3 separate regions of the Homo sapiens genome follow, and regions 2 and 3 are each linked to region 1. The links are contacts of gene promoters, found by promoter capture Hi-C in blood cells and fetal thymus (Javierre and others, 2016). All regions are on one chromosome and are shown on one strand. The core of a region is centred on a gene start or on the middle of the fragment in contact, and the rest is flanking DNA. Distances in the headings are between cores, read along the strand shown.

The links. The method cuts DNA at HindIII sites, captures the fragments that hold promoters and counts their contacts. A CHiCAGO score of 5 or more calls a contact.
Region 2: a contact is called between a fragment that was not itself captured here and the fragment with the promoter of COL13A1 in region 1, in 1 of 17 cell types (endothelial precursors). The highest score is 6.6, in endothelial precursors.
Region 3: a contact is called between a fragment that was not itself captured here and the fragment with the promoter of COL13A1 in region 1, in 1 of 17 cell types (endothelial precursors). The highest score is 5.3, in endothelial precursors.

The regions. Positions count from the first base shown.
Region 1 is chr10:69,799,909-69,804,513 of GRCh38, forward strand. COL13A1 (collagen type XIII alpha 1 chain) reads left to right here and starts at 1,998. Exons shown (of 41, transcript NM_001368882.1): 1 at 1,998-2,809. The coding sequence starts at 2,516. LOC124902444 (a long non-coding RNA gene) reads right to left here and starts at 1,863. Exons shown (of 2, transcript XR_007062179.1): 1 at 1,138-1,863; 2 at 1-228. The HindIII fragment of the contact is 5,096 bases long and covers 1-3,868 here.
Region 2 is chr10:69,637,740-69,642,344 of GRCh38, forward strand. No RefSeq gene overlaps it. Among named protein-coding and RNA genes, the nearest start is that of FAM241B, 9.8 kb to the left of the region's middle. The HindIII fragment of the contact is 4,509 bases long and covers 1-4,482 here.
Region 3 is chr10:69,930,401-69,935,005 of GRCh38, forward strand. It overlaps COL13A1 (collagen type XIII alpha 1 chain), which reads left to right. Exons shown (of 41, transcript NM_001368882.1): 30 at 1-152; 31 at 2,160-2,204. Among named protein-coding and RNA genes, the nearest start is that of LINC02636, 77 kb to the right of the region's middle. The HindIII fragment of the contact is 1,657 bases long and covers 2,285-3,941 here.

The DNA of each region.
Region 1 (4,605 bases), core at 748-3,247:
GAAAACTGAGCCTCCGAGATGTTCAGCAGCTTCCACATTGACAAAAGGGAGATTTACACCCAGGTTTCTCTGACTCCAGAGTCCCCCTGGAAGCTCCAGGGTTTGCAATGCTGGGGCCAGGTCAGGCTAGCGCAACACCCTCCTCTTTCAGTTCCCAATCACAAGGATGCTCCAGCTCCAAACTGTTTAGATTTCACTGCCTGAGCATTCCTGAGGGCCTCCAAAGTCCTGAAAGGGAAAAGATCAGTTTGCAGAATAAGGAGGGAATGAAACTAACTCCCCACCTCAGTTCCTCCATTCAGACTAGCCTGGGAGGGGAGTGGGGGAAGTCCAAAGTCCCTGAATTTCCTGGCCTGTACCTCCCAGTGCAGAAACTCTCCAACGCCCCCTGGTGTTCTTCAATACCATCCAAGTCTCCCAAGGATTCATTCCTCTGTAGAGTGGACTGGGACATCCCATCACAGGGATGGAGAAAACAGAGTGCCCTTGCCACTGAAGCCATCAGGAGAATCCTAGAACTGGAACTGGAACCCAGAGCTCCTGGCCACGGGCTCTTTCAGCAGCATCGCCTTCTATTCCTGTTGTCCTCCATAGTGGCTGACTGGCCCAGCAGTCAATGTTACCTTTATTACATATGATCTCAGTACTTACTATGTTACAAGTCCAATATGCACTATTAAGTGTGCCACACTTTATTAGAAGTGCAGTGACACTGTATTATATATCAAGTTCCATCAGGTCAATATAGAAAATGGGAAGTTTGTACTGGCATGCCTTGTTATTTTGAAATGGAATCCCAGCACCACTGCTGCCCCCACCTCCACTGCATATTTGAAAACCCAGTCTACTCTCCTCTGCCCGCTGTTCCAGGAAGACAGGCTTTCTCCCAAAAACTCAGTCCCACCACCTCATTCACAGGAATGTCAACAGGCACAAGGAGATAAAGTCTCTTGGGATACAAATGCTACTTAATGTGGGGGGTGGAGGAGGTGACAAGAGAAGAGAGAAAACTACCAAATGCCCTTCAGGCCACCAGTTTTTCTCTAGTGGAATATAGGAAATGACAACAGGAGAGAGCCTGGTTAGCCCTAAGCCTCCCGCAGGGATGGAACCTGAGTTTGTGTAGGAATTGCTCACCTTTGATGACTGGGATGATTGAGGCAGGCTGGTCTCACCACACAGGGATAGATGGCATGGGTCTCAGATTAATGGCAGGCAAGAAGGGGAGATGTCAGGACTGGCAGGCGGCCCCAATGAGCCACCTCTCAGATACCTGGAATAAGATCTCCTCCGTTTTCAGTGTCTCATACTACCTCAGGTCTTGGTCCTGAGAGGAAGGGCTGCCAGCTCTGCTGCCCCCTGGAGGGCTGACTTTTCACCCCAGAGTAAAGATGTGGTTGGCCGCCCGGCACTGGAGGAGCTGCAGATCTCAGGAGGTACAGAGCCCCCGGGGAGTCGGTTGTCGGGGGAGAAGGAAGGGGAAAGAGGTTGGGGGCTTGGGAGTAGAGGAGCGGTGGCTGAAGGGATCAGGTAGTCCTGATCAGGACGTGGAGATCCACCCACAAGCCCTGACAATAACTCAGTCGAGTTCCTGGAGGGTCTCAAGGGCTGGGAAAGGTGGAGTGGTGCCTGCCCCAACGCGTCCATGGAAGGTGGTGCCCGCCTCACCGCCTCCGTGGAAGGCCAAACGAGCCCTCGGTGTGAATCCGGAGAAAGAGAGGGAAGTGCAGCGCCAGCTCCACTCCACACCCCCTTCCTGCCTATAAATAACCCCAAGTGTCACTTCAAAGAGGACGGGGAGCGCGGCAGAGGGGCTCCCGGGCCGGCGGGCTGGGGCCGCCGGACCTGCTCACCACGCCCCCCACCCTGGGCGAGTTTGCATAAATAAACAAATCCAAGCCGTCGGCCCCGCGGGAGGTGGAGGAGGAGTGACGAGGAGGAGGAGGAGGAGGGAGGGGGGAGGGAGAGATTAGTTTGGGAAGTAGCACGGATTGCTCATCCGATCCGTGCCGCCGCAGGGAGTGTGTCAAGTTACAGAGGCGCCGGAATCGGCCCCTGCGCTCCTCGCCAGCCGCCACGACCCACCTCTGCCCATGGGGCCCTCCGTGTGCGCCCCTTCGCCCGGGGACTGAAACTGACTGGCCCGGGAGACACGAGGCGCCCAGAAGGACTGACAGCGCGGCACCAACTGCTCTGCAGACACTTGAAGGGAAAGACTGGGCGGAGAGAAGGAGAGCCGGTCAGATTCCCCTAACTTTCCTGGACTTGGAACGTTCTTCGAAATAACTTTTTTCTCACCTAGGTGTACCCCAATTACCGCTGGTTGTGCTTTTTCGGCACTTCCTCTCCTACTGCTAATTTTTCCGTCCTCTTTGCCGGGAGCAGCGGAAAGGGACGTTTTCCAGCGATACAAGCCCTTTCCCCCTGCCCCGCAGTTTGGATAGAGCCTTTTGGCAGCGGCTGTCGCCTTTATTTATTCTATTTATTTATTTATTGGTTCTCAAGACGCGAGAGGATGGTAGCGGAGCGCACCCACAAAGCGGCAGCCACCGGTGCCCGCGGCCCTGGGGAGTTGGGCGCGCCCGGGACGGTGGCTCTGGTGGCGGCGCGGGCGGAGCGCGGCGCACGGCTGCCGAGTCCAGGGTCGTGCGGGCTGCTGACGCTGGCCCTCTGCTCGCTGGCACTCAGCCTGCTCGCCCACTTTCGGACGGCCGAGCTGCAGGCCCGGGTGCTGCGCCTGGAAGCGGAGCGCGGGGAGCAGCAAATGGAGACGGCTATTTTGGGACGAGTCAATCAACTGCTGGACGAGGTCTGTGCTCTTTGTTGCTGGCTTTTATCCCTCCCCGCGGCGCCCCCTCGCGCAGCCTCCAGACTGTTCAGCCGGTGTCCGCGGGCGCTCGCTCTCTGCGAGCCCCAGGTTCGCGCGAGTTGCCTGCGGGAGGGGTCGGGGACACGGACAGACGCTGCCCTACCAGGGATTCGGAGGACCTGGTGGGCAAGAGCATGACCCAGCGACTCCCGCCTCGGGCAAGCGCCCCCGGCTTCCAGCGCTGGGAGCGCCCTGGGCACGCCGGGCAGGTGGAGGAAGGCTGGGCGCGCGGAGGCTCGCGGAGGCGGGCAAGCTCCACTCCTCCCTTTCGGGACCCGGCCAGGGTGGTGTGACAGCCGCCCCGCGCCCGCGCAGCGGCAAGCGCGCCCAGAGGCCCAGGCCGAGGCTTACTGAGCCCCCATGGCCCTCCCCCTCCACCCCTTAAGGACCCGGGGGGTGCGGGGAGAGGGGACAGTTCTTGCAGGGGGTGGTGCCCTGGTCTCTGCTCACTGGCCCAGGCCGCTAGGGTCCAAGTGTGGGTCGCCTGGCTCTGCTGTCCTTGGCCACAAATTAGTCCACACCTTCTTTTTCCTAAACCAGGTTTCTTATTTTTCTGGAGAAAGGATGCTTTCTTCCATTCTCCAAATTTTTTTGATCCAAGTAGATTAAACACTACTAGCGTGTCAGGTAGCTATGGCAATCTTCGGAATACAGGAAAAGGCTGTCCCCTCCCCAGGAAGGAGGGACATGCAGCCTCTTTGTGCCACCAGAGGAAAGGCTGGGCCTTGACAGGGTGAGGCTTGATGATCTGTGGGAATCTGGACAGCACAGGGGATTCAGGGCCCAGATAGAGAGGAGGACAGGCAGGTGGGGGCCGCAGCAGTCTGGGAAGAGGTCCTGGAGCAGGTCCTGGCCATGGAAGGTCCTGGCCATGGAAGGTTTCCATGGGGAAGAAATGGGAGAGGATATCTTACTTAGCTGGAGGGAGTGTGCAGCAGTAAAGATCACGGTGGTAGAGGCCAGCAACCCTGGGTTTTTATCCCCACTCTGCTACTTGGAAGCTTGGGACAAACGCTCCAACCCCTCTGAACATGCGAAACAGTGCTGATGTAGCAAACACTGGAGCACAGCTCTAACTGTGGTGGGTGGGGTGCTGTGAGCATTTTGGCAAGATGTACCTATTCCCTATAGCCAGGCTCTTCTCAGCTGCCCCTGCCAGGCTGGCACCTGCTGGAGCAGTTCTCCAGGGTGGCCAAGGAGGAGATTGCAGGGCCAGAGCAGAGAGAGCGGTCACAGGGCAAGCGTACTGGTGCTAGTGGTGCACCCATGACTGCTGCTGTCAGCTCATTCCCACGCCCTGCCAGGCTCCAGGGAATCCGGAGAACTCCATCGGGCCGTCCATGGTTCCCTGGGCCTGGGGTGGAGGTGCAGCATCTCTGGGCTCAGGCAGAATGAGCCCAGACTGGCTGGGTGGTGAAGAAGGTGTCAGGGCAGTGAGAGCTCCTCCAGGTATCTCGGGGGTCCTGGCTGCTGAGGGATAAGCATCTGATTTTCAGGGTTTAGCACAGCCCCTCTCTCCATGCTTTCCCCTTCCCAGACCTTCCTGCTGGCCTGACCATGCCCTGGCCTTTTCTAGCTTCTTGCTTCCACTGCTTCAGACTTAGACATGCCAAGTCGCATACTCTAGGGGCCTTGGGGCTAACTATTGTATCCGACATGCTCACTCCTTCCCTCCAAGCTGCAGCTCCATATTTACCCTACTGAATACAATCTTTTCAACTGCTAGATATGAAAGT
Region 2 (4,605 bases), core at 978-3,477, 160 kb before region 1:
AGCCAATACTACTTGCCATTCACAGTAGGTATTCGTACAAATGAATCCAGGACAAAACGAATGATATTCCATTTTAGCTAGTCACTGCCATTGTCCAAGCCCTTAGCCTGATGCCTGCTTTCTTTGTTAAAAAAGTCAGTTTATGAAGATTGGGAGTGGTGCAGAAGCCTCACTGGCCCCTCACTGAGACATTCTCCTCGATGGATTCAGAGGACTGAAGAGAAACAAAGAGGAATGACTTCCTCACCATCCGATTCGGTGCTGTGTTTGTAAATTGCTTATAATCATCTTGTGCACCACCCCAAATCATTTCACTCCCTGGCGGGTAAGAGTACCCCACAACTGCGGGAAACATGGTATGATCTTGAGCAAGCTATTTTAAAAGTCTTACTCTTTGTAAAGTAATGCATTCGTGTGGTTCAGATGATATAATGTACAAATGTATATAGAGAAAAGCCTTTCTCCCTCCTCTGTCCCCATCCATCCATCCCTCCTCCACTCCACTATAACTACTGTTCTTAGTGTCTTCTAAATACTTCCAGAATTTAGTTATGCAAATATGAGCAAACATGAATATACTATTTTTTCTTTTTTTATACAAATAATAGAAAAATTTGACACGTTTTTCTCTGCCTTTTGCATTTTTCACTTAGCAGTGTATCTTGGCACATTTTATATGAGTACATGAAGAGCATTTTCATCCTGCAGTATTTTGGTGTTTGAGTTGTCGACCCTGTCTTGGGCTCACCTGTACCATGGGGGATTGACTCAGTTGACCCTCAGGGCCTTGCAGCTCTGACCCTGAACCAACCCATGGGGTTTTTCCCTGAAATGTGGGGATCTTGACAGAACTGTCTCCCTTTCTCCAGGGCCCAAGGGGAGATATCACAACCTTATAGGGTTTCTCAGTCTCCTTTGCAGTTGGATAGGGTGCAATTTCTGCCCTCATCTGGCTCCTTGAAAAGGCGCAGTGGCCTCACCTGAACACTGCCTCCTGGGTCACACTGCACCCTGAGACGAGCTGAGAGGGACTCCCCACAACCTCTGACAGGCAGGGAGTGACCCCCGCCTGGCCTCCCTCATTCTGGAAAAACAAACAGGCTGGGCTAGACTTCCACGAAGGCCCCTTTCAGCTCTGAGACCGACACCTACCACAGAGGGCCTTGCCCTTAGTAGACGCTTGATGGACTTTGCTGCTGCCTGGCCTGGCATTGCCAACGTCATTGTCCAACACGTTGCTGTCCCCACTTCCTCTAACACCCCATTTTCTTTCTTTTTTAAAAAAAATTAACTTTTCAGTTCAGGGGTACATGTGCAGGTTTATTGTATAGGTAAACTTGTGTCATGGGGGTTTGTTGTACAGATTATTTCATCACCCGGGTATTCAGCCTAGTACCCACTCATTATTTTTCCTGATCCTCTCCCTCCTCTCATACTCCACCCTCTGAAAGGCCCCAATGTGTGTTGTTCCCTTTTATGTGTCCAGTAACACCCCATTTTCATGAACATCTGGATTAAGGAAGTTAAGAAAAGCCTTGAGGAGAGACCAAGACCCCAGCTTTCTTGCTCTGAACTGGGTAATGAACTCTCAATGCCCTTTTGCAGGGACCTGAGGGACCCCCACCACCTTGGTGTGTAGACTGGAAAGGTTGTGAAAGTTGTCTCATGGCGCCACCTGGTGGAATTTTTGGACAGGAGCAGGAACTCCCTCCTGCAAATATACTACAAATGGATTCATCTGCTCTCCTGCTCCCGGTTAGTGCTCACCTCAGCCAGCCCAGGCTTGGTATTACCTTGTATTTTGGAAAGGTTTCTGGTGGAGAGCATGCACAATTCCATTATAATTTCTCATTCACTGTGGTTTCGTCCTGGGTTGAGCCTAGTGCCGGGAACATTCATAAGTTTTGTTTCATTTCATCCTCTCCCAAGCAAAGAAAAATATATGTCCTTCCTTTTTCCCAGAGTAAAGGAATTTATATGTGGCCACAAAGTTGGCAGGCAGCAGATCTGGAGCCTGCCTCGCCAGCCTCCAGCAAACTGAATCTGGGAGCCCTAGGGAGGGTGGAAGGTGGCTGTGGAACCCCCAGGGAGAGGGTTTGTCGCCGGGGTCTAGTCTTGAACCAGACCTTCCAGTATTTGAGTTTTCAGCCTAGGAGACAGAGTGAGAAGTTTTAGACTTGGTGGCCCAGGGTTGCTGTGATCATGTTAGTGGAAGGGGCTTGCTTACTGTTTAAGGCTGCACTCTCTCTAGGTGGGGGTGGCTATGTCTAGCCCAGCCTTACCCAGTGCAGCACCCACCAACGCCTCACACTTGCCTGTCCTTACTCAGAGCCTGGCGCCAGGTGGTTCCCCTCAATGAACGTGATATTTGTGACATGGGGCCCATTGCCTAGCTCTTGTCTTTTTCACTGGAGGCAAGAAGCAGGCGAGTCAGACAGGCTCCCCATTTGGTAGCTTTGGGCAAGTTCCTTACTGTGCCTCATCTGTGAAATGGGGATGACGTGTCATCTAGGGCGGTGTTGAGCTGCAATTGGAAGACGTGTATGCAGTGCCTGGGGTGTAGCGGTGTGCCATGGATGAGGGTTTGTATCAGATCACCTCCTACAGGGCCCATTAGTGAAAATTGTCTGCCCTCAGTCAAGAAAATGTAAAATGCAATTTGCTTTCGAAATTCTGGGAGGAAAAAAAAATAGAAAAATTTCCCAATATGTCTGCTTACCAGTATCATGCAGTGAAGACATCTGCCTCTGAGGCATGGGCCTGTGTGAGCACGCTTGTCAGTCTATGAGGGGGTGTGTTTGTTTTTTCTTTTTTGCAGCTTTGAGCTCAGCTAATCCTGAGAAATCACTTTCTTCTGATGAAGTGGCTAAAATCTGGACGCTGTCAGCAAGGGAACATACAAGCCAACCACAAGTGCCTCCAACAGCGTGTTCCTTTTCCTGTGATAGTTGTTCTCAACCTAGCAACACCACCAGTTCATCTGGGCAGCTTTAAAACATGCAGCCTGGGTTCCAGTTCCAGAGCCATGAGCCAGCCTTCCTCCAGGTGGGAGCTGCCCTGTCCCCGGGGAGCAGGGTTTGTGGCTCCTTCCCTCTCACATGGCAGACTGAGTTTCTGAGGGCAGGGATCATGCTCAGCTCTTTTTTGTATTCCCAGTCCCAGACAGGGGCCCTGGCCCTTTGTCAAAACTTGGGGACTGCTCTGCAAACTGCATGAGAAGGCATGAGGCACTAGCCCAACTAAAGGGAGGAGGGGACCCCAAAAACAGAGCCCATTCTTCCTGCCTTGACTGGGTTGGATCCTGGTGACTTCTCTGTCACCTGTGTACTCAGGGACATTATTCTCAAGTTGTAAGTGCAGGTAGCTCTACCCCGCAGCACGTGTGGGATGAAGAAGGAAGGAAGAAAGAAAGGAGGGAGGCAGGGAGGGAGGGAGGAATGAAAGAACCTAGGTCAATAGTATAAATGTAGCTCTGAGCCGGGGGTCCCAAGGCTCCCTGTGACATCTGCCTGTATCCCAGCCTCTCTTTAAATGAAGAAGCAGCCTTCCTTGAAGACCCACCAGGTGGGAACTGCTGCCCACTCCAGAAGCCTGGGGAGGGTTTCTCTCAAGACTGTGGCATTCGCGCTTCTCTCTCCCTCCTCTGCTGCACTTGCTTTTCCTTGGAGTCAAGTGACAGGTCAGGCCCAGCCCAGGGTGCAGAGGGTGCAGTGACCCTGGGACACATGGATGTTGTGGGAGTGACTCATTGTGGCCTCACAGCTCAGGAAGGGGGTGCATGTGCTGTCTCCTTGCCTCTGCCTTATTCCAGGGGAGTTAGACTCTTGCCTTTTGCTCCCAAGCCCTTGAGAAACCAGGGCTGGATCTACTTGGGATCTAACTACCAGTGCCCTAGTTATGCAGGAGTTAGAAACTGAAATGCCCTCAGGGACCAGATAGGTGCCAGAGAACCGTGAGAAGCAGCTGGGTCCCAGGCACCAGGGAGGGGTGCGGTCTGTGGAGGACTGGGCGGGGCAGACCCCGCTAAAGGCTTCATCGCGCTGCACAGCACGTTGCGGGGTAAGGCTGCCACCACTGCAGCAGGGATATTGGTGCTCCTCCTGGCTCACAGCAGGCCCTGGGGTCTGTGTTCTGGCTCCTCCTCCCCCAGGAGCTGCGTGGTCTCAGGGAATTTAGCTGCTCTGCTAAGCCTCAGTTTTCTCTATAAATGGGGGAAATAATGCCCCCTCTTGGGGTTGACGTGCAGGAAAAGGGGAAGTTTTATATTCCTTATGTATTCCATAACATATTCTTGATATAGCACCTCTATTTGTTTTCTATGCCATGTCACAAGTCACCAAAAACTTAGCAGCTTAAAACAACACACATTTAGTATCTCACAGTTCCTGGGCATGGCTTAGCAGGTCCTCTGCAGAGCTGCCAACAGTGCCAGTCAGAGCTGGATTCTCATCTGGAGGCTCGACTGGGAAGGGTCCACTTCCAAGCTTCCTAGAAAGAATAAGCTGCGCTTTCTTGCAGGTATAGGACTCACTGCAACTTGTTTCTTCACAGCCAGCAACGGAGAGAGACTCCAAAGCTAGCTCTGGACATCCCCTCCCCTTTGCC
Region 3 (4,605 bases), core at 1,863-4,362, 130 kb after region 1:
GACCTCGCGGTAAACCAGGAGACATGGGCCCTCCTGGTCCCCAAGGCCCCCCAGGAAAGGATGGACCTCCAGGAGTGAAGGGAGAAAACGGGCACCCAGGGAGCCCAGGAGAGAAGGGGGAAAAAGGGGAGACAGGACAAGCAGGCTCACCGGTGAGTGGCAGGGCTGGCTGCCCTTCCGTGCATACACCACTCCCAAGCATGACGCCAGCTTTGCAGGGCTTTGCACTTTGCATGATGTGAGCTGCTGCCTGGGCTAGAAACCTGGGGCCAGGGCTTAGGGGTGGAGGATTCACTCAGCTTCCCCTCAAGTCACTCACTTTATGAAGGCCAGTTTCCCGACTCAGGAGACCTGAGTTGTGCTCTGTCATCTGTATCCTTGGGAAAGCCACTCACTGTTGCAGAGTCTCCGTCTCCTCATCTCTAAACTGGCGATAATAATGTTTTCCCTGGATACCTCACTGGATTGTTGGGAAAGAGATGAAGACATGGTTTAGAGCTGCCTCTTTGGAAAGTGTACAGAAGCCCTATACCCGGGAGAGGCTGCATGTACAGAAACGGGGCCTTCGCCCAGTCCACTAGGCTGCTAACTTGACTTAGGGGCCTTCTCTGGGTCTCAGGGGTTTCCATCTGTGAAATGGGTGCCATCCTAGACACCTACCCTTGGAGCAAGGGAGCCACATCCTGTGCAGGCCACAGTTGGTCACACTCAGCAAGACCACCTTGAGCTCCACTAACAGAAATCATTGTCAGTCTGTAGGGTCTAGATGGCCCAACTGGGGAGAGGAGAACATGGTGGCCAGAGCAGACCCAGAGTGGCAGGATTGCCTAATCCAGCTGGGCTCCTGAGGTTTACAGTGAAGCCAGAGGGCTGGGTGTCAAGGTTGCCTGCAGGCAGCCACAGATGAGGGTCCTCCTGGGGGCCACCAGCCTAGTGGGTGCCTGACACTGTGACGAGGCTGCCCTAATCCCAAGCCTGCCGACCCAGCCTGGGAGCAGGCAGGGAGGGTCCTCTTAACAAGCAGCTACTTCATTTGAGTGTAAACAGGAGTTGCATCTTCCTTGGCTCACGGTATGATGGCCTCTAGGAGCACCAACCTAGTTCGACGGTGCTAGAATCTTGGTCTCAGAATTCTCCTCTAGGAAGTGGAAAGAGCCTCAGAGGTCAACCAGTCCCAAGTCTGACCCAGTGCAGGACTCCTCACTCAACCGGCACAGGCAGGCAGCTCACTGCCTCCAGACCTGTCCACTGCACCATGGGGCAGCCCCAGGATGGAGGGAGCATTCCTGGATATGGTGTGGAAGCTCCCTTGTCAGCCTCCCCGAGTTGACCCCTCAGAGCCTCTGGCCTCTGGAGCCATATTTATTATCTATTGCTGCATAACTAATCACTGCAAACGTAGCGGCCTAAGAAAATACACACTTATTGGCACATAGTTTCTGTGGGTCAGGAATTCAGGCACATCCTAGTTGGGTCCTCTGCCCATGGTCTCATGAGGCTGCAATTAATGTCTCAGCCAACTGTATTCTCATCTGGAGCTAGGGATCCCCTTCCAAGCTACTGGTATTGGCAGAATCCAGTTCCTTGCTGGAACAGAACTCAGCTCCTAGAGGCCACCTACAGTTCCTGCCACCTGCGCCCCTGCCCTCCCCACCTCCCGCAGAGTAGACAGTTCACATTATAGCAACTGGCATCTTCAAGGACAAGGCCAGCAGTAGGGTCTCTCTAGTGTCTAGTGCTAGCAAGACAGAGCTGTGTGCACGTGTGTTTGTGTGTTCATGTAACATATTTGTAACATAATCTTAATATATGTTATATGTCACCATCTGTATGACATGTATGTTATAATCTGCAACATAATCATAGAAGTGAGGTCCCACCACCTTTGCCATGTGCCTTACTCCACGGCTAAGAAACAAGTCACAGGTCACCCTAAGGCCTGTACGCTGCAGAGTCCACAGAGAGTATCAGCCTCTCCTCCCCTGTACTAGAGCCTCAGATTCTGTCCTGCAGGCTGACACCTCCACATCCTCCATGGTGTTCCTTGTTGACCCCTAGACCAGTCACGTCCCAGTCTAGTTTGTCACAGATGTGAGGGTGCGTCTGTCCCAGGCTTTCACAAGGGCTGGCATTCATGCAGTGGTGTTTTGTGCCCACAGGGAGAGAAAGGAGAAGCCGGGGAGAAGGGCAATCCAGGAGCAGAGGTACATGAGAGATAATTTGACAGAGACTCATCAAGCGACAGTCTCTGCAGCATGCACAGTATTTCTGTGCTTTAGAATGAAGCTTGCAACTGCCTGATGTTTACGTTTACTGAGCACCACCATAGGTCAGGCACTGATCCTCTGGACTGCTCCAGTCTTCCCAAACCACATCTCTCAGCAACCTTCACAGAGCACCTCCCATGCTTCCATCCTGGTGCTAGAGTCTGGAGATACGAAAATAAACAGAACTTGCCGGGCACGGTGGCTCACGCCTGTAATCCTAGCAATTTGGGAGGCTGAGGCAGGCGGATCACCTGAGGTCGGGAGTTTGAGACCAGCCTGGCCAATATGGTGAAACCCCATCTCTACTAAAAATACAAAATTAGCCAGGAGTGGTGGCAGGTGCCTATAATCCCAGCTATTCGGGAGGCTGAGGCAGGAGAATCACGTGAACCCAGGAGGCAGAGGTTACAGTGAGCCAGGATTGTGCCACTGCACTCCAGCCTGGGCAACAGAGTGAGACTCTGCCTCAAAAAAAAAAAAAAAAAAAAAAAAAAAAAAAACAGAACCATCCCTCCACAGCTCACAATACCCCATAATGGGCACTAGCATGGGAGCAACTCAGGGAATCGGGCAAGCATCCCAAAAGACTTTCTATTTGGGCAGAGTCTTGACGGCTTTGTAGGAGTTTGCCACAAAGTTTCAGAGGTAGGCTTTCCAGATAGAGGCATTATTCTTTTGAGAAGTGTGGTGAAAGGAAGAGAAAACAGAATGGCTGAGTGAGAATAGTCAGGATGGAGGCAAGGTTTTCAAAAGACAGCAGAGAATCAGGCATATTTGCGGGCTCAGGGGCAAGAACCCGGAAAGCAACGGAGATCAAGGATGCGTGAGAGACAGGATGTTTGGTGGCGGGGTCTGGGCAACCCAAATAGCACCTCAGACCCATGGGAGAGACCACCAAGCCTTCTCAGTCCCCATCAGGGTGGGTTCACCTTGCCAAGCCCCGTCTGAATGTAGTGAAACAGGCCTGATTGTACAATGTGTATGGTACTTGTTTCGAAATGGATAGCCTCCTAAAGAAATGATCCTAATTCAGGAAAAGCATTATACGCACATTGTCCCTCCAAGAAGTATTTAAAATAAACATTAGAAACACTCTAAATTTTATCAAGAAGGAAAGGATTAAATAACTTATAGTAATAATACTAATAGTAATAATAGTCACCACGTCTGAGCACTTCCCTCGTGCCAAGCACCGCACTAAGCCCTGGGTATGTAACAACTCATTTTCACTCCACCCAGTGAATAGCACAGCACCGTTACCAGGAAGCTGGTGGCGAACATATAAAAAATGGAAACATCAGTTTCACAGTAAGTGAAAAAGAGTTGAAAACGAAATTTTATACATATATGAAATCATAAGCATATACATATATGTATATACAATTCTACACATATTATATGTAAATATCAAAAGTATATACATATATTCAAGCACATCTGATACATCAAGAAAATGTTTAAATTTTCTCTTTAAAGAAAATTTTAAAAATTCTTTTTATTCTTTTTATTATTTTTAAAATTACCACCCAGGTAAAATTGACTTCTTCTGGAATGTGTCCAGTTCTGTGAATGTTAATGCATGTAGAGATTTGTATAACCAATACCATGATTAGGATACATAAACCACTTACTTATAATAAGAATTAAAATGGTAAACTTTTGTTAAAAATGGGAAGCTTTTTTTAAGAAGGCAGAGTTTCCAAAGACTGTGTTCCCTCCAAGGAGACTGTGATGGAGCGACAAAGTCCACAGGTCCAGGAAACAATAGGGACCTCCTGTCTGCCCAGTGTAGGGGTGCCCTCTGTCGTGGCCTGGCACAGGAGTCACTCCCCTGGCCATGCTCCAGGGAATTCTACCCCTGGGAAGACGAGGCACCTGAGGAGAGCCCTGAAGCCGAGGCGGGGTGAGCAGCTCAGAAGGACCCAGCAGTGGCTGCCTGTGGATGAAAGGATGTGTGTGTTCATCAGAGACAGAAGCTGCAATGGGCACCACCCTCTGTAGAGGAGGCAGCCCTGAGCTCCTCCATCTTCACTGTCCAGTCAGAATCTCCTCTAGCACAATCTGCATCTGCTCTCAAGGGAAACAGAGACCAGCAGTCCCCATCCTGTCTGTAACAAACCTTGGGGACTTGAGGAGCAATCTCCAGGAACAGCTCAGTCTCCCCACATTCCAGATAACCAATCTCTGCTTCTCTAAGCCAAGGGTCTCAAACTCAAATGTCTACAAGGGTCAGGCCTGCAAAAAGTGACTGCAAGAGCGCTGGATCAAAGACAATAAGGAGTGGTGAGGACTGGGGTAAACTGAAGGTGTCATGCCCCACCTAGAGGGGAAAGCTCTA